6 separate regions of the Homo sapiens genome follow, and all the other regions are linked to region 4. Evidence: promoter capture Hi-C in human tissues and cell types (Jung and others, 2019). All regions are on one chromosome and are shown on one strand. The core of a region is centred on a gene start or on the middle of the fragment in contact, and the rest is flanking DNA. Distances in the headings are between cores, read along the strand shown. Region 1 overlaps CEACAM16-AS1 (CEACAM16, CEACAM19 and PVR antisense RNA 1). Region 2 overlaps CKM (creatine kinase, M-type). Region 3 has its middle 12 kb from the start of FOSB. Region 4 holds the start of CLASRP (CLK4 associating serine/arginine rich protein). Region 5 holds the start of ERCC2 (ERCC excision repair 2, TFIIH core complex helicase subunit). Region 6 holds the start of CEACAM16 (CEA cell adhesion molecule 16, tectorial membrane component).

Region 1 (2,981 bases), core at 323-2,822, 320 kb before region 4:
AAGCAGCTCAGGTTTCTAGGTCAAGCAAAATCCCATAGCCTCAGGGTGTGGTGGAGGCTCAAATGTCCCCAAGACCAGGTCCTCCGTCCCTCTGGGCATCTCTGTGCTCTTTTACTGAATTATCTCAAGTAGTGCAATCCCCTTCATTAAGAGTGTAGGAAAGAATAATAACAATAACCACAAAATAATAATCACTCCTATATCTCGAGCATCAGTGTATTAGTCCATTCTCACATTGCTATAAAGACATACCTGAGACTGGGTAATTTATAAAGAAAAGAGGTTTAATCAGCTCATGATTCTGTGGGCTATACAGGCTTCTGCTTCTGGGGAGACCTCAGGAAACTTACAATCATGGCAGATGGTGAAAGGGAAGCAAGCACGTCTTCACATGGCCGGCAGGAGAGGAAGGTGGGGTGCTACACACTTTTAAACAAGCAGCACTAGGAGGATGGTGCTAAAACATTAGAAACTGCCCCCACGATCCAATCACCTCCCACGAGGTCCCTCCTCCTACACTGAGGATCATAACTGGACATGAGATTTGGGTGGGGACTAAGAACTAAACCATATCAATTGGTTTTATCCTTTTTCATGCAAGATCTCAATTCCTACAGCAGCTCTTAAGAGCAGTTACTATCATTCCCCCAACTTACAGGTGAGGAAACTAAGGCACAGAGACTTGAAAACTTTGCTCCAAGTCCCACAGTTCCCATGTGTCCTAGGTGGAGGTGCTGGTGGGGGAGTCCTCTCCATTCTTCAGCAGGGCAGAGGGTTTCAGGGCACAGCTCTGAGGACAGACAGAATTCTTTTTAGCTGTGGGAACTTGGGTACATTGCTTGCTTTTCCTCCTCGTAAAATGGAGATGATAATACTGCCCCTGCCTCCTAGGATTGTTGAAAAGATCACATTAGTTAATACAAGTAATGAGCCTGAAACATGGATGCTCAATAAATGCCTATGACCCAGACTAAGGTGTTAGATTTTAACAACAGGCAGATAGAAAAAGCAAAGATAACATTTTTCTTTTTCTTTTTTTTTTTTTTTTGAGACGGAGTTTTGCTCCTGTTGCCCAGGCTGGAGTGCAATGCATGATCTCGGCTCACCACAACCTCTGCTTCCTGGGTTCAAGCGATTCTCCTGCCTCAGCCTCCCCAGTAGCTGGGATTACAGACATGAGCCACCACACCCGGTTAATTTTTTTTTTTTTTTAGCATTTTTAGTAGAGACGGGGTTTCTCCATTTTGGTCAGGTTGGTCTCAGGTGATCCTGACCTCAGGTGATCCGCCCGCCTCAGCCTCCCAAAGTGCTGGGATTACAGGCATGAGCCACCGCGCCCGGCCATTTTTTTTTTTTTTTTTTTTTTTTTCCAGACCGGGTCTCAGCATTATCCAGACTGGAATACAGTGATGCAATCATGGCTCACTGCAGTCTCCCAAGCAGCTGGGACTACAGGCATGAGCCACCACGCCGGCCAATTGTTGCATTTTTTGTGGAGTCAGGGTCTTGTTCTGTTGTCCAGGCTGGTCTCAAACTCCTGGGCTCAAGCAATCCTTTCACTTCAGCCTCCTAAAGTGCTGGGATTACAGGTGTGAGCCACCACACCCTGCTTCAAAGATAACATTTGTCCTGGCGAACTTAATCCTACTAAGCAGGTTTGCTTCGCTTTATGTAATATATGATGTTCTTTACATTGTAATCACTGAGATTTGCTGACAAAAAGTAATAATAGGCCGGGCGCGGTGCCTCATGCCTGTAATCCCAGCACTTTGGGAGGCTGAGGCAGGCAGATCACCTAAGGTCAGGAGTTCGAGACCAGCCTAGCCAACATGGTGAAACCCCGTCTCTACTAAAAATACAAATAATTGCCAGATGTCATCATGTGCGCCTGTAATCCCAGCTACTTGGGAGGCTGAGGCATGAGAATCACTTGAACCCAGGAGGCAGAGGTTTCTGTGAGCGGAGATTGCACCACTGCACTCCGGCCTGGGCAACAAAGTGGACTCCATCTCAAAAAAAAAAAAAAGTAATAGGCAGATCACAAGATCAAGAGATTAAAACAATCCTGGCCAACATGGTGAAACCCTGTCTCTACTAAAAAATACAAAAATTAGTTGGCCGTGGTGGCACATACCTGTAGTCCCAGCTACTTGGGAGGCTGAGGCAGAAGAATTCGCTCGAACCCAGGAGGCGGAGTTTGCAGTGAGCCTAGATCGTGCCACTGCACTCCAGCCTGGAGACAGAGTGAGACTCTGTCTCAAAAAAAAAAAAAAGTAATAAAAGCAATAATAATAAATGTGTATGAGCTTTTAGAAACACGATGCTCATCATCGCAGGTTCCAGGGTAGGTGCTCTCAGCACAGGTTCTCTGACTTGCTCCTCAAAGCTTCCCTTTGAAATGGAACTATTAATACATTTCCCAAATCTCCTGTTTATTAACGTAAACATCCCTGCGAAGAGCACTGGCTAACGCCTGTTATCCCATCACTTTGGGAAGCTGAGGCAGGAGGATTACTTGAGGCCAGGAGTTCAAGAACAGCCTGGGCAACATTGCAAGACCCTATCTCTACAAAAAAAAACAAAAAACAAAAAAAAAAAACAGAATTATTTGGGCATGGCAGTACTTGTCTGTCATCCCAGCTACCTGGGAGGCTGAGATGGGAGCATTGCTTGCGCCTAGGATTTTGAGGCTGTAGTGAGCTGTGATGGTGCCATTGCACTCCAGCCTATGAGACAGAACAAGACCCTGTCTCAAAAATTAAAATAAAATAAAATAAGTTATATATCCCAGGCTTCTGCCTGGGCCCAGAAAACCTGTCTCTCCAGGGTGGGGACTTGAAAGAATTTTCTTTCTTTTTTTTTTCTTTTTTTTTTTTTTTTGAGACAGAGTCTTGCTCTGTCATCCAGGCTGGAGTGCAGTGGCATGATCTCAGCTCACTTCAACTTCTGCCTCCCGGGTTCAAGCTATTCTTGTGCCTCAG
Region 2 (2,891 bases), core at 99-2,598, 270 kb after region 4:
TGTGTCACCCAGGCTGGAGTGCAATGGCGTGATCTCGTCTCACTGCAACCTCTGCCTCCCAGGTTCAAGCGATTCTCCTGCCTCAGCCTCCCGAGTAGCTGGGACTACAGGCGCGCGCCACTACGCCTGGATAATTTATTTATTTATTAATTTTTTAGTATAGAGACGGGGTTTCACCATGTTGGCCAGGCTGGTCTTGAACTCCTGACCCTCCTCAGCCTCCCAAAGTGCTGGGATTACAGGCGTGAGCCACCGCTCCCGGCCTGAAGGCGGATCCTTACGGGCGGGGCTTGGGCATAGGGTGGAGCTGGGTCCAGGGGCGGGGCCCTGAAAAGCGGGTGGGGCTAGTTTTGGGGGGCGGGGTTTGGCATGGGGTGGAGCCAGGTCCGGGGGGCAGGGCCCTGGAAAATGGGTGGGGCAGGGCTTAGTATAGGGGAAGGGGCGGGGCCTCGGAAAGCAGGTGGGGCGTTCAAGGTGGAGTCAGAAGTCAGCAGCTAAGGGCAGACACCCACCTTCTGCAGCCCTACGCAGAAGCGGCGGAAAACCTCCTTCATGTTGCCCCCCTTCTCCATGGAGATGACCCGGAGGTGATCCTCCTCGTTCACCCACACCAGGAAGCTCTTGTTGTCATTGTGCCTAGAGTAAGGTGCCGCAGCAAGAGGCCAAGGTGTCAGCCCCGTGGGAACCCCATTCCCAGCCCTCCCCCAAAACATCTGCCCACCGATGGGGGAAGAGGGCCTGAGGGGTGGGAGGTGGGTGGCATCTGCCTCCTCAAAACGCAGAAGCTTAAACCTGTAGACTCTAATGTCACAGGATCTGCAAAACGCTGAATCCTGGGATCAAGGACTTTTAGGGACTTAAGTCTTTGAACAGTATTATTATAGATCCTTGGGATCTCAGGATGTTTGACAAACAGAAGCTTGGGATCAGAACTGATAACACTTGGTAATCCTACATCTGGTTTCAGGACCAGAAAATCTTCCCATCGTAGTGTGTTAGCTCCCAATCCTAGCATCTCAGAAGCAGGATCTTAGAACATAAAATATTAAGGCTGGGTGCGGTGGCTCACGCCTGTAATCCCAGCACTTTGGGAGGCCGAGGCGGGCGGATCACAAGGTCAGGAGATCGACACCATCCTGGCTAACACGTCGAAACCCTGTCTCTACTAAAAAATACAAAAAAAAATCTGGGCATGGTGGCGGGCATCTGTAGTCCCAGCTACTCAGGAGGCTGAGGCAAGAGAATGGCGAGAACCCGGGAGGTGGAGCTTGCAGTGAGTCGAGATCGCGCCACTGCACTCCAGCCTGGGCAACAGAGCGAGACTCCATCTCAAAAAAAAAAAAAAAAAAGAACATAAAATATTAAGATCCGGAAATGGCCGGGTGTGGTGGCTCATGCCTGTAATCCCAGCACTTTGGGAGGCCAAGGCCGGAGGATTGCTTGAGCCCAGGAGTTCAAGACTACCCTGGGCAACATGGCAAGACCCACATATCTACAAAATTTAAAAAATTAGCAGGCATGGTGGGACACATGCCTGTAGTCCAAGCCACTGGGGAGGCTGAGGCGGGAGGATCACTTGACCTTGGAAGGTCCAGGCTGCAGCGAGCTATGATCCCACCACTGCACTCCAGCCTGGGCAACAGAGCAAGACCCTGTCTCAAAAAAAAAAAAAAAAAAACCTGAGGGCAGGCATGGTGGCTCACGCTTGTAATCCCAGCACTTTGGGAGGCTGAGGTGGGCGGATCACTTAAGGTGAAGAGTTCGAGACCAGCCTGAGCAACATGGCAGAACGCTGTCTCTACCAAAAATACGAAAACTAGCTGGGCACAGTGGCACATGCCTGTCGTCCTAGCTACTAAGGAGGCGGAGGGTGAGAGGATCGTTTGAACCCGGGAGATGGAGGTTTCAGTGAGTCGAGATCAACCCACTGCACTCCAGCCTGGGCCTCAGAGTGAGAGTCCATCTCAAAATAAATAAATAAATAAATGAGTGGAATCTTAAAACCTAAAAATATTTAAAATCTTGAAATCTTAGAATCATCCCATCTGTATATCTTAGCACCCAGGCTCCCTTCATCGATTGAAACCTAGGTTCTCTAAATCTTTGACTATCTGAATCAGGGATTCAAAGAGTCAAAACAAGTCTAGCAATAATACTTTATAATAAAGATAAGACGAATAACCAAGATGTACTGAACACTTAGTGTATACCAGGCACTGCTTTTTTTTTTTTTTTTTTTTTTGAGACAGAGTCTTGGTCTGTCGCCCAGGCTGGAGTGCAGTGATGCGATCTTGGCTCACTTCAAGCTCCGCCTCCCGGGTTCACGCCATTCTCCTGCCTCAGCCTCACGAGTAAGTAGGACTACAGGCGCCTGCCACCAAGCCCAGCTAATTTTTTGTATTTTTAGTAGAGACGGGGTTTCACCATGTTAGCCAGGATGGTCTCGATCTCCTGACCTCGTGATCCGCCCGCCTTGGCCTCCCAAAGTGCTGGGATTACAGGCGTGAGCCACCGCGCCTGGCCCAGGCACTGCTTTTAATACTTTACATAAATTAACTCATTTAATCCTCACAAGAACACCAGAAACTACAAATTATTGTGATCCCTATCCTATAGCTAGGAAACTGGGGTAGAGAAAAATAAAATAAGTTGCCCAAGGTCACAAAGCTAGTAAAGTTAGTAAATGGTAGAGCTGGGATTTGAACCTAGGGAGTACGGTTCAAGTCTGAGTTCTTATTTTTGAGACAGGTAGCTGGAGTGCAGTACCTCGGTCATGATTCACAGTAACCTCAATCCTCTGGGCCCAGCTGATCCTCAGCCTCTCGAGTAGCTGGGACCACAGGTATACGCCATCACGCCTGGCTTTTTTTTTTTTTTTTTTTTTTTTTTTT
Region 3 (3,021 bases), core at 45-2,544, 420 kb after region 4:
GCTGCATCTGGAACACCCCAATGGCTACAAGGCCCAGCCGTGGTCTGGTTTCAGGAAAGGTAAATGAAGGGTGAAGTTGGGACGGGATGGAATTGAGGTTCAAATCACTCCATGGGACTGGGAAAGTGGGAAGTGAAAGAGGGATGAAAGAGCGCATTTGAAGCAGGCAGACTGAGGGTCAGACTCCAGAAAGGACTTCCTCCTAGGACTATTTTGGGGCTGGGAACTATAAGAAATGAACTGTTTTGCTGGGCCTGGTGGCCTACACCTGTAATCCCAGCACTTTGGGAGGCCGAGGCAGGCAGATCGCAAGGTCAAGAGATCAAGATCATCCTGGTCAACCTGGTGAAACCCCATCTCTACTAAAAATACAAAAATTAGGTGGGCGTGGTGGCGCGTGCCTGTAGTCCCAGATACTCAGGAGGCAGAGGCAGGAGAATCACTTGAACTCGGGAGGCGGGGGTTGCAGTGAGCCGAAATTGCGCCACTGCACTCCAGCCTGGTGACAGAGCAAGACTCCCTCTCAAAAAAAAAAAAAGAAAGAAAAACATGAGCTGTTTGGAGAGCTGCCTGGAGGAAGAGAAACCAGCCTGAGTTTCACAGGCTAGTGGAATTTGGAGGGGGGCAATAATAGCAATAACAATAGGCCAGGCACGGTGGCTCACACCTGTAATCCCAGCACTTTGGGAGGCCGAGAAGGGTGGATCACCTGAGGTCTGGAGTTCGAGACCAGCCTGGCCAGCATGGCAAAACCCTGTCTTTACTAAAAATACAAAAAAAATTAACCAGGCTTGGTGGTGTGTGCCTGTAATTCCAGCTACTCGGGAGGTTGAGGCAGGAGAATAACTTGAACCCGGGAGGTGTGGGTTGCAGTGAACCGAGATCATGCCACTGCACTCCAGCCTGGGCGACAGAGTGAGACTTTGTGTCAAAAACAATAATAATAATAATAATAATGCACTAGGTGCAGATACTGATAAAGGCTTTGTGAGGAATTTTCTTTCTTTCTTTTTTCTTTTTTTTTTGAGACAGAGTCTCACTCTCTTTCCTGGCTGGAGTGCAGTGGCACGATCTCGGCTCACTGCAACCTCCGCCTCCCGGGTTCAAGCGATTCTCCTGCCTCAGGCTCCCAAGTGGCTGGGATAACAGGTGCCCACCACTACGCCCAGCTAATTTTTTTTTTTTTTTTAGATAGGGTCTGGCTCTGGCTCTGTCATACAGGCTGGAGCACAGTGGCATGATGACAACCCACTGCAGCCTTGACCTCCTGGGCTTAAGTGATCCTCTTGCCTCAGCCTCCTGAGTAGCTGGGGCTACAGGCTTATTTTTTTGTAGAGATGGGGTCTCACTCTGTTGCCCAGGCTGGTCTCAAACTTCTGGGCTCAAGCAATCCTCCTGCCTTGGCTTCCCAAAGTGCTGGGTTTACAGGAGTGAGCCACCATGTCTGGCCATTTGAGGAAATTTTTATTTTTGTCTGTCTTGTTTCCTGCTCTGTCCCCAGCACCTAGAGTGTGTGACTGCAGTGTGTGTGTGTGTGTGTGTGTGTGTGTGTGTGTGTGTGTAGGTGTGCTGATTAAATATTTGAATGGCTGATTGAATGAACGAATGAATGTCATCCTACAACCACTTGTGAGTCCTGGTCTTAGGGGAAGGCTGGGCTGGGGCCCTGGCCTCTGGGATCCCTCTTGTGCCAGTCCCCCAGCCCTGCTGTTCCCACAGCTCTGTGCTGAAGAGGGCGTGGAGGGGGCCAGGGAAGGGAGTGTCAGGCAGCCAGCCGGCTGCCTGCCCTGGACAGCAGCCCAGAGTGTCTGCAGGAGGGAGAGGGTAGTTCAGGAGCCTGAGTCACCCTGGGAGAAACCCCAGCCACATACCTGGCCGCTGACATCACCCGGCCAGGGCACCCCCGGCAGCCTAGACAAGCTGACTGAATCACAGGCGGAATTCAGCCACCCCGGGCACGTGGCCTGCTGTGACCCCCCGCAACACCCCCGAGTGGCCGTCTGGCTGCGGGGGTTGGGCCGGGCACACAGGGGTCAGTGAGGGGGCATGGGGCCTGAGTCAGGGACAGGGTGGCTACAGCCAGAGACCACCCAGCCACAGGCGTCCATGTGGGGCAGGAAGGAGAAAGTTTGGGAAGGAGAGCCTGTGGGGAGGCCCTGGCGGGTGAGGAGGAAGCACGTGTGGGTGTGACGGGGAGGCTGCGGCTTGTGGGCAGCGGCTGGGCGACCCACAGGGGTGGGATGGGGTCTGAGTGTTTGCGCAGAGAATCACCAAATCGTAAGAGACTTGGTCGTAAGAGTCAGTCAGGAGGACAATGGAATCACCAATGTGCTTACACACGCAAAGGCACACACGCACACTCAACACCCGGCCTGGGGAGGCCCTGACTCCACCCACCCCAGGCCAGCGGGGCCTCACTACCCATAAGCCTGCAAGTTCCCTAAGGGACTGAGGCCTAAGGGACAGTTTCCTCATCTGTTGAGTGGGGGTATTAACAAGCATTATTAGGCCAGGCACAGTGACTCGTGAGGCAGAGGTAGGCGGATCCCTTGGAGGCCAGAAGTTCAAGACCAGCCTGGACATCATAGCAAGACCCCTTCTCTACAAAGAAAAAATTTAAAAATTAGCTGGATGTGGTGGTGTGCACCTGTAGTCCCAGGTACTCAGGAGGCTGTGGAGGGTGGATTGCTGGAGTGTTGGAGTTTGAGACTGCAGTGAGCTATTGATTGCACCACTGTACTCCAGCCTAGACAACAGAACAAGATCCTATAGCAAAAAAAAAAAAAAAAAAAAATCACTATTATTGTAATAGCTATGCTTACGGGGAACATACTTTCTGCCAGGTGCTGTTCTAGGCATTCTACATTTTTTTTTTTTAAATAATGGAGATGACGTCTCACTATGTTTCCCAGGCTGGTCTTGAACTCCTGAGCTCAGGCTATCCTCTCGCTTTTTTGGTGGCTGGCACGCCTGTAATCCCGACATTTTGGGAGGCCAAGGTGGGTGGATCGCCGGAGCCCA
Region 4 (3,012 bases), core at 498-2,997:
AGGCCACCTTGATATCACATTTTGCAGGGAGTAGGGCATTTGATTTAGGGCCTGATCAGAAGTTAGCCCTAAATCACACTACACTTCTCTTGTCTTCATCCCCGTAGGCCCGTTCCTCCCGCCGTCAGCCCTGCTGCCAGACCCTGACTTCTTCTCTGGCACCGTGTCCCTGCCCGGCCTGGAGCCCCCTGGCGGGCCTGACCTCCTGGACGATGGCTTTGCCTACGACCCTACGGCCCCCACACTCTTCACCATGCTGGACCTGCTGCCCCCGGCACCGCCACACGCTAGCGCTGTTGTGTGCAGCGGAGGTGCCGGGGCCGTGGTTGGGGAGACCCCCGGCCCTGAACCACTGACACTGGACTCGTACCAGGCCCCGGGCCCCGGGGATGGAGGCACCGCCAGCCTTGTGGGCAGCAACATGTTCCCCAATCATTACCGCGAGGCGGCCTTTGGGGGCGGCCTCCTATCCCCGGGGCCTGAAGCCACGTAGCCCCGCGATGCCAGAGGAGGGGCACTGGGTGGGGAGGGAGGTGGAGGAGCCGTGCAATCCCAACCAGGATGTCTAGCACCCCCATCCCCTTGGCCCTTCCTCATGCTTCTGAAGTGGACATATTCAGCCTTGGCGAGAAGCTCCGTTGCACGGGTTTCCCCTTGAGCCCATTTTACAGATGAGGAAACTGAGTCCGGAGAGGAAAAGGGACATGGCTCCCGTGCACTAGCTTGTTACAGCTGCCTCTGTCCCCACATGTGGGGGCACCTTCTCCAGTAGGATTCGGAAAAGATTGTACATATGGGAGGAGGGGGCAGATTCCTGGCCCTCCCTCCCCAGACTTGAAGGTGGGGGGTAGGTTGGTTGTTCAGAGTCTTCCCAATAAAGATGAGTTTTTGAGCCTCCGGGGTTTCGTCTGTTCTGGGCTTGGGAAACGCCCTAGTCCCTTAGTAGCAAAGAAAGCCTCCAGGCTGGGGGCTCAGGCCTGTCATCCCAGCACTTTGGGAGGCCAAAGCAGGAGGATCGCTTGAGCTCACGAGTTTGAGACCAGCCTGGGCAACATGACGAAACCTAGTCTCTACAAAAAATACAAAAATTAGCCGGGCGTGGTGCTGCGCGCCTGTAATCCCAGCTACTCTAGAGGCTGAGGTGGGAGGATCGCTTGAGCCCAGGAGGTGGACGTTGCAGTGAGCCAAGACCGCACCACTGCACTCCAGCTTGGGCGACAGCGCGAGGCTGTGTCTCAAAAAAATAAAAAATGAAAATGAAAATAAAAAATGAGACCGGGCATGGTGGCTCATGGCTGTAATCCCAGCACTTTGGGAGGCCGAGGCAGGTGGATCACCTGAGGTCAGGAGTTTGAGACCAGCCTAACCAAAATGGTGAAACCCCATCTCTACTAAAAATACAAAAATTAGCCGGGCTTGGTGGCGCGCGCTTGTAGTCCCAGCTACTCGGGAGGCTGAGGTGGGAGAATAGCTGAAACCCAGGAGGCAAAGGTTGCAGTGAGCCTAGATCGCGCCACTGCCTTCTAGCCTGGGAGACAAAGAGAGACTCCGTCTCAAAAAAATAAAATTAAATAAATAAATAAAATAAAAAAGATAAAAAGATAAAGCATCCAAGCTCTTCCCTTCTCCGCTCTCCCACTTCTTCCTCGGGATCCCGCCCCTCTCGACTCTAGGACCCGCCTCTCTCGTCGGCGGAAGTGCGCTGCGCGGCCCTCCACCATGCTCCGCCCCCTCCCCCTAGCGCGGCCTTTCATTTCCGCTTCCGGTGCGGGCCGCGCGCGAGCGCAGCGGTGGGAGGCGGCGACCAGCCGGTGAGTGCAGGCTGCGGCTCGACCTCCCGGTTTTCGGGCAGGCCTCAGCCCAGCTTCTCCCTTTCCTCAGGCTCTCCCCATGCTGCTGTGGGCTTCTGCTGCGTCCCGGCCCCGAGGATCGCTCGTCCCTCACCCCATTAGGCCTGACGGGCCTCAGGCCGAGCCCGTGCCCCGGCTGTGGGCCAGAAGTTGCCGCGTCGAACTCGGCCTTCGGCCCAGCAGCTTATCACAGGCCCCGCCCCCTTGTCAAAAAAAAAAACAACAAAAAAAAAACCCAGCCCAAATCCTCAGGCCGCGACGCGATCCACAAGCCCCGTCCAAACCTTCGGTCTCCGCCCTTTCCCGCAAGCCCTGCCCCCAAGCTCAGCCCACGCCCTCCTGTCAGCCAGCTCCGCCTCTCTCAGGCTCTACGCTCTTTTTCTTTGGATGCTCTCCCCACCCCGCCATCTAGATCCCATCTTTAGACCTCAGCTTCACTCTGGTCTCCTTGCAACACTCCCTCCCCGTGTTCCCACTCCCTCTAGCATCTTCATCTTCCGCCACGCCCTTCACCTGTCCTCGACCTCCACCTTCATACAACTGCACTGTTCCCTTAAAAGCTTTCTCCGATTTCCTCCACCTGCCTTCATCCTTATTCTCCTTATCCCTCTACCACCCAGACTCATACCCAACCCCACGCATGGCCCCTAGTGGGAGCCTTTTCAGTTCTTCTCTTTCTCTTGAGCTCCAGCCTTAAGTGCTCAGGGTTTGCCTTCTGACCCTACTTCAAACACTGCTGATGTTTCAAAACCTTTCATTCCCGACTCCAGCGCGTGGAATCTAGGACACCCCTTTCCCAGTGATGCTCACCTCAGAATCACCTGAGGGTTTTTCAGAATGCCCAAGCTTCTAGATCGAAGTTGTTAGGGATGGACTTGAACATCTGGCATACTGTTCTGCAGCTTCACTTCTGCTCCCTGAAGCTAAGAGATGTGTTGTTTGGGATCGACTCTGCCACCAACTTGTTAGATGACTTTGATTCTGCCCATACGGGTTTCACAGACCATCTGACTTTCCTGGTCCCTTCATCCCTCAGGTTGAGGCCCCAGGCTTGGCCTCACCACAATGTGGCACGAGGCTCGGAAGCATGAGCGGAAGCTTCGAGGCATGATGGTCGACTACAAGAAGAGGGCGGAGCGGAGACGGGAGTATTATGAAAAGA
Region 5 (2,938 bases), core at 1-2,500, 330 kb after region 4:
GTCTTAGGCAAGTACCTTCACCTCCCCAGACCTCAGTATCCCTATCTCTAAAATGAGCCTAAAGCCAGGCGTGGTGGCTCACACCTGTAATCCCAGCACTTTGGGAGGCTGAGGCAGGTGAACCACCTGAGGTCAGAAGTTCAAGACCAGCTGGGCCAACAAGGTGAAACCCCGTCTCTACTAAAAATACAAAAAATTAGCCAGATGTGGTGGCGCGCACCTGTAATTCAATCTCAAAAATAAATAAATAAAATAAAATGGGCCTAATAATAAAACCTTCCTCATAACATGACTATGAGGATTGTGAGAAATTGCAGGTTAAATATTTGGCACAGTAGCTGATATATAGTGAACTTTTCTCCCTTCTTTTTTAAGAGACAAGTGTCACTATTGCCCAGGCTGGAATGCAGTGGCACAATCATGGCTCACTGCAGCCTCCAACTCCTGGCCTCAAGCGATCCTCCTGCCTCAGCCTCCCGAGTAGGTGGGATTACAGGCGCCCGCCACCACACCTGGCTAATTTTTGTATTTTTAGTACAGACGGGGTTTCACCGTGTTGGCCAGGCTGGTCTCCAACTCCTGACCTCAAGTGATCCGCCCGCCTCGTCCTCCCAAAGCTCTGGGATTACAGGCGCGAGCCACCGCGCCCAGCCTATTCACCATTATTGTTTTAGATAACGGAAGATTATGGGGTCCTGGATTCCCAGGGACCTCGGACTTCTAAAATCCAGACGTCCTGCAATCTGTCTTAGGCCCAGGCGTGGCAGCCCCACCGGTCGAGTGGGCGGGTCGGGCCCACCGGCCACCCACCTTGGCGTCCAGCGTGCGTTTGAGCTCCCGCATGTAGGAGAACTGCTCGGGGTAGATGTAGTCGTACGGGAAGTAGACCAGGAGCCCGTCCACGTTGAGCCTGGCGGCAGGGGCTGCTGGGTCAGTTCCCGTCCCCTCAGCCCCTCTCCCGCCTCCACAGTGCCCGGTCGTCGAGCCCAGAGAAGGGTGACGGGCCCGGCGCCCCCGGTAACCCTCAGGTCCTCAGGAGCCTCGGGGCCCCCTCAGTGTCTCCTCGCTATCACTGCTGCTCCCTGCGGCTGCCCCCGTCCCACCCCTTCACCCTCCCCTCGCCCCCTTGGGGACCCAGGCGCGCCCACCGATGACCCCATCTTCAAGACCCCCCGCGCCCGCTAGCGAGCGCGACCCCCAGCCCCCTTCTCACTTCATGGCGCCGGCCGGACTGTGCAGCGGGGTCGACCCGCCTCCCTCATGAATATTCAGCGAGAGGCCGGGTCGTGGACATCCTCGAGGGCTCGCTCCACCTATATTACGAGACCATTGGCTAACCTGCCCGTCAATCCGCTAGGGCAGAGCCAATCGGGATACTGCGCGTGCGCACGGAAAAGCGAGGGCGGCTGACTCTCGGGTGAGGCGGTGCGGGAGGCGTCACTGAGGATCGTCGAGGGCCAATCAAAAAGAAAACATGGAAGGGAAAGAGCCGAGAGACTCGATCTCATTCACTAGAATTTGGTCCTCCTGCGCCTGCCAAGATTGTCTGAGTATTGATCGAACCCAGGAGTTCGAGATCAGCTTGAGCAAGATAGCGAGAACCCCCGCCCCTCCACCTCGTCTCAAAAAAAAAAAAAAATCGTCTCAGTAGCGAATAGTCTAACGGAGAATGACAGGGAAATTGGTGATCCTTTCTGGGCCCAAGAGTTAGAAATGGCTTTGCAGGCCGGGCGCGGTGGCTCAAGCCTGTAATCCCAGCACTTTGGGAGGCTGAGGCAGGTGGATCACCTGAGGTCGGGAGTTCAAGACCAGCCTGACCAACATGGAGAAAACCTGTCTCTACTAAAGATACAAAATTAGCCGGGCGTGCTGGCAAATGCTTGTAATCCCAGCTACTCGGGAGGCTGAAGCAGGAGAATTGCTTGAACCTGGGAGGCAGAGGTTGCAGTGAGCAGAGATGGCGCCGTCGCACTCTAGCCTGGGCAACAAAAGCGAAACTCCATTTCAAATATTAATAATAATAACTAATAAATAAAACATAAATGCTAGCTTTTGTTTGTTTCTTCAACAAATAGCTATGTGGCATCTACCATGTGTCTGATCCTGTGCTGGCCCCTGGGAACAGAAAGGTGACCATGACAGCCTCAGCACCTGCCCTCAAAGAACAGATTTTTTTCCTTGAGACAGGGTCTTTCTCTGTCGCCAAGGCTGGAGTGCAGTGGCACAGTCACAGCTCACTGCAGCCTCCACCTCTTGGGCTCAAGCGATCCTCCCACCTCAGCTTCCAGAGTAGCTGGGACCACAGGTGTGCACCACCAAGCCCAGCTAAGTTTTATTTTTTAAATTTTTTTAGAGACGAGGTCTCACCACGTTGCCCAGGCTGGTTAAACTCGCAGGTTCAAGTGATCCTCTCCCCTCAGCCTTTCAAATTGTTGGGATTACAGGGGTGAGGCACCAGGCCTGGCCTCAAAGAACAGATATTAAATATACAAATGAATATATGATTACAGCCTGGAGTGGTGGCTCGTGCCTGTGGTTCCAACACTTTGGAAGGCCAAGGCGAGTACATTGCTTGAGCTCAGGAGCTAGAGACCAGCCTGGGCAACATGGTGAAAACCCGTCTCTACAAAAAATGCAAAAATTAGCTGGGCGTGGTGGCGTGCACCTGTAGTCCCAGATACTCAGGAGGCTGAGGTGGGAGAATCACCTGGGCCTGGGAGGCAGAGGTTGCAATGGGCAGTGATTGTGCCACTGCACTCCAGCCTGGGCAACAGGAGTGAAAACCTATCTCAAATGTGTGTGTGTGTGTGTGTGTGTGTGTGTGTGCGCACGTGTATAATCACAAGTACAAAAGTGCTGTGAAGGAAAACTTCAAGTCACCATAAAGATTGATTATGGGCTGGGTGCAGTGGCTCATGCCTGTAATCCCAGCACTTTG
Region 6 (2,700 bases), core at 73-2,572, 340 kb before region 4:
TCCAGGAGGGCTTCCTGGAGGAGAGGGTTTGGGGAAGGCAGTGGAATAGAGCAGAGGGAAGCAGGGATATTCTGGGTAGAGTGCAAGTGAAACAGAAGAACTGAAGCAGAGGGTTCCCGGAAGCAAGTGGTATTCTATGTAGCTGGTCAGGTGGGCAGGAGTCAGGCCGGGCAGGGCCTCCTGGGCTACAGTGAGGAACCTGGGCTTCCTCCCAAGGGCACTGGGGAGCCACAGCAGGTTCTGAGCACGGAGGGGCAGAGGCAGGTTTTTGTTTTGGAAAGAGCCTCTGTCTGCCATGTGGAGGGGCAATGGGAGTCGGGGAGACCAGGGCCAGAGACTAGGGAGGAGGCTGGTGGGGAGACAGGAGGACCCAGGCAAGGTGGGGTGGTGGAGTGGTCACCTAGACCAGGGCAGGGGCTTCAGGGAGGGAGAGAAGATATACGTAGAGTCAGTTGCCAGAAGGGGTGGCGTGTTCGGGGAGTAGGGGGAGGCATCAGGGATGAGGCCCCAGGTCTCTTTTCCCAGCGATGAGGTGGGTAGTGGCGCCTTCCCTGATAAGGGCACCAGGGGAAGATACACTTCTGGGGGAAGATGCCAAGGTCAGTTTGGGACAAGGTGAGTGAGAGGTGCCCAGGGACATCAGGGAGGCATCCTGATTGATACTGGGATGAGGTCCCAGTGCTCTGGGCCAGGACGCAGAAGAGTGAGGTGAGGTCACAGGTGGGGAGAGGGGAGCAGGAGGCGCCAGGACATCCTCTGTGCCTCTCACCTGGCCTCACCCGCACCTCCTCAGGGCCTTCTCCCCCTTGTTAGAGCCCTGCCCCACGAGGGCAGCCCAGGACACAGTGCTGGAGGCAAACCAGGACAGGTGAGCACAGGTGTGGCCCCCTGCCCGGAAGCAGGCTGCAGAGGCCTCAGAGGAACCAGGACTCAGAAGCCATCAGGATGCAGGTCATAAGAACACAGCTATCAGCAGCTCTGGCACCACAACCCCCTCGGCTCCTGCCCAGCATCATCTCAGAGACACCTTCCCTGTTACCCTCCCTCCACCCCAATTTAAAGTAGCAAACCAGGCCAGGGGCAGTGGCTCATGGCTGTAATCCCAGCACTTTGGGAGGCCAAGGTGGGAAGATCACTTGAGGCCAAGAGTTTGAGACCAGGCAGAGCAACATAGCGAGATCCCATCTCTACAAAAAATAAAATGGCAAATCCCCTTTCTGACTTTATTTTTCAATCTGACGTGGAAGATATTTACCTTTCCTTTATTTACTCCGCAAATGTCGGCCCCCTGAGGGCAGGGATTTCATCCGTCTTGTGCACGGCTGCATCCTCAGCGCCTAGAACAGCACCTGGCAAACAATAGGTGCTCATTCAGTATTTGTCCAATAAGTGAATGAGTGATTTACTGAGCATTTACTCTGCGCCAGTCGTGGTAAGTACTGTACTTCACATGTGTATCTACTTAATCCTTTCAACAGCCCTGTGATGTGAGTACTATTGTTTTCCCTATTTTACAAATAAGGAAACTGAGGCTTGGCAGAGTCCATAAATTGCCCAGGGTCCTGGAGGTAGGAAACAGTGGAACTATGTCCAGAGCCTATACTTTTTTTTTTTTGAGATGGAGTTTCACTCTTTTGCCCAGGGTTCAAGCAATTCTCCTGCTTCAGCCTCCCAAGTAGCTGGGATTACAGGTGCCCGCGACCACACCCAGCTAATTTTTGTATTTTTAGTAGAGACAGGGTTTCACCATGCTGGCCAGGCTGGTCTTGAACTCCTGACCTCAGTTGATCCACCCACCTCGGCCTCCCAAAGTGCTAGGACTACAGGCATGAGCCACTGCGTCCGGCCATGAGCCACCACGCCCGGCCAGAGCCTATACTTTTAATAACAGGCATACCAATCAGACCCACGTCCACCAGGCTCTGGCTTAAATCCCTGACTTGTAGCCTCTCACTAACTGCTGTCAACAAACCTGAAGTAGGGTCCATATCATCTCTATTTTTTTGTTTGTTTTTGAAATGGAGTCTTGCTCTGTCACCCAGGCTGGAGTGCAGTGGCAGGATCTCGGCTCACTGCAACCTCTACCTCCTGGATTCAAGCGATTCTCCTACCTCAGCCTCCCTAGTAGCTGGGATTACAGGCATGTGCCACCATGACCGGCTAACTTTTATTTTTTGTTTTTGCTTTTGTTTTTTGAGATAGAGTCTCACTCTGTCACCCAGGCTGGAGTGCAGTGGTGTGATCTCAGCTCGCTGCAACCTCCACCTCCTGGGTTCAAGAGATTCTCCTGCCTCAGCCTCTCGAGTAGCTGGGACTACAGGTGCACACCACCACACCCAGCTAATTTTTTATATTTTTAGTACATACGAGGTTTCACCATATTGGCCAGGCTGGTCTCGAACTCCTGACCTCGTGAGCCACCTGCCTTGGCCTCCCAAAGTGTTGGGATTACAGGCGTTAGCCACCACACCCAGCTAACTTATATTTTTAATAGAGACGGGGTTTCGCCATGTTGGTCAGGCTGGTTGCAAACTCCTCACCTCAGGTGATCTGCCCATCTCAGCCTCCCAAAGTGCTGGGACTACAGGCACCTGCCACCACGCCTGGCTATTTTTATTATTATTATTTTTAGTAGAGATGGGGTTTCGCCATGTTGGCCAGGCTGATCTCGAACTCCTGACCTCAAATGATCCGCCTGCC

The links. The method cuts DNA at HindIII sites, captures the fragments that hold promoters and counts their contacts. A contact is called where the count stands out against the background at its distance.
Region 1: a contact is called between a fragment that was not itself captured here and the fragment with the promoter of CLASRP in region 4, in 1 of the 25 tissues and cell types used here (spleen).
Region 2: a contact is called between a fragment that was not itself captured here and the fragment with the promoter of CLASRP in region 4, in 5 of the 25 tissues and cell types used here (aorta, lymphoblastoid cells, mesendoderm cells and 2 more).
Region 3: a contact is called between a fragment that was not itself captured here and the fragment with the promoter of CLASRP in region 4, in 1 of the 25 tissues and cell types used here (heart left ventricle).
Region 5: a contact is called between the fragment with the promoter of ERCC2 here and the fragment with the promoter of CLASRP in region 4, in 6 of the 25 tissues and cell types used here (adrenal gland, aorta, dorsolateral prefrontal cortex and 3 more).
Region 6: the fragment with the promoter of CEACAM16 here is called in contact with the fragment with the promoter of CLASRP in region 4 in 3 of the 25 tissues and cell types used here (heart left ventricle, heart right ventricle and liver).

What each region holds. Positions count from the first base shown.
Region 1 is chr19:44,715,294-44,718,274 of GRCh38, forward strand. The region is part of intron 1 of CEACAM16-AS1 (CEACAM16, CEACAM19 and PVR antisense RNA 1); the gene reads right to left. Among named protein-coding and RNA genes, the nearest start is that of CEACAM16-AS1, 8.4 kb to the right of the region's middle. The HindIII fragment of the contact is 6,037 bases long and covers 1-2,981 here.
Region 2 is chr19:45,307,897-45,310,787 of GRCh38, forward strand. CKM (creatine kinase, M-type) reads right to left here. Exons shown (of 8, transcript NM_001824.5): 6 at 513-636. Among named protein-coding and RNA genes, the nearest start is that of CKM, 14 kb to the right of the region's middle. RefSeq lists a silencer at 634-791. The HindIII fragment of the contact is 3,883 bases long and covers 1-2,891 here.
Region 3 is chr19:45,454,056-45,457,076 of GRCh38, forward strand. No RefSeq gene overlaps it. Among named protein-coding and RNA genes, the nearest start is that of FOSB, 12 kb to the right of the region's middle. RefSeq lists enhancers at 426-485, 793-1,759, 1,522-1,771, 1,760-2,726. The HindIII fragment of the contact is 7,912 bases long and covers 1-3,021 here.
Region 4 is chr19:45,037,298-45,040,309 of GRCh38, forward strand. It overlaps CLASRP (CLK4 associating serine/arginine rich protein), which reads left to right and starts at 1,748. Exons shown (of 21, transcript NM_007056.3): 1 at 1,748-1,811; 2 at 2,887-3,012. The coding sequence starts at 2,916. RELB (RELB proto-oncogene, NF-kB subunit) reads left to right here. Exons shown (of 12, transcript NM_006509.4): 12 at 108-895. The coding sequence ends at 493. RefSeq lists an enhancer at 1,422-2,291. The HindIII fragment of the contact is 17,106 bases long and covers 1-3,012 here.
Region 5 is chr19:45,369,323-45,372,260 of GRCh38, forward strand. ERCC2 (ERCC excision repair 2, TFIIH core complex helicase subunit) reads right to left here and starts at 1,251. Exons shown (of 23, transcript NM_000400.4): 1 at 1,214-1,251; 2 at 811-910. The coding sequence starts at 1,218. RefSeq lists enhancers at 5-846, 1,465-1,544. The HindIII fragment of the contact is 25,658 bases long and covers 1-2,938 here.
Region 6 is chr19:44,697,829-44,700,528 of GRCh38, forward strand. It overlaps CEACAM16 (CEA cell adhesion molecule 16, tectorial membrane component), which reads left to right and starts at 1,323. Exons shown (of 7, transcript NM_001039213.4): 1 at 1,323-1,432. CEACAM16-AS1 (CEACAM16, CEACAM19 and PVR antisense RNA 1) reads right to left here. Exons shown (of 2, transcript NR_186815.1): 2 at 1,210-1,349. The HindIII fragment of the contact is 25,622 bases long and covers 1-2,700 here.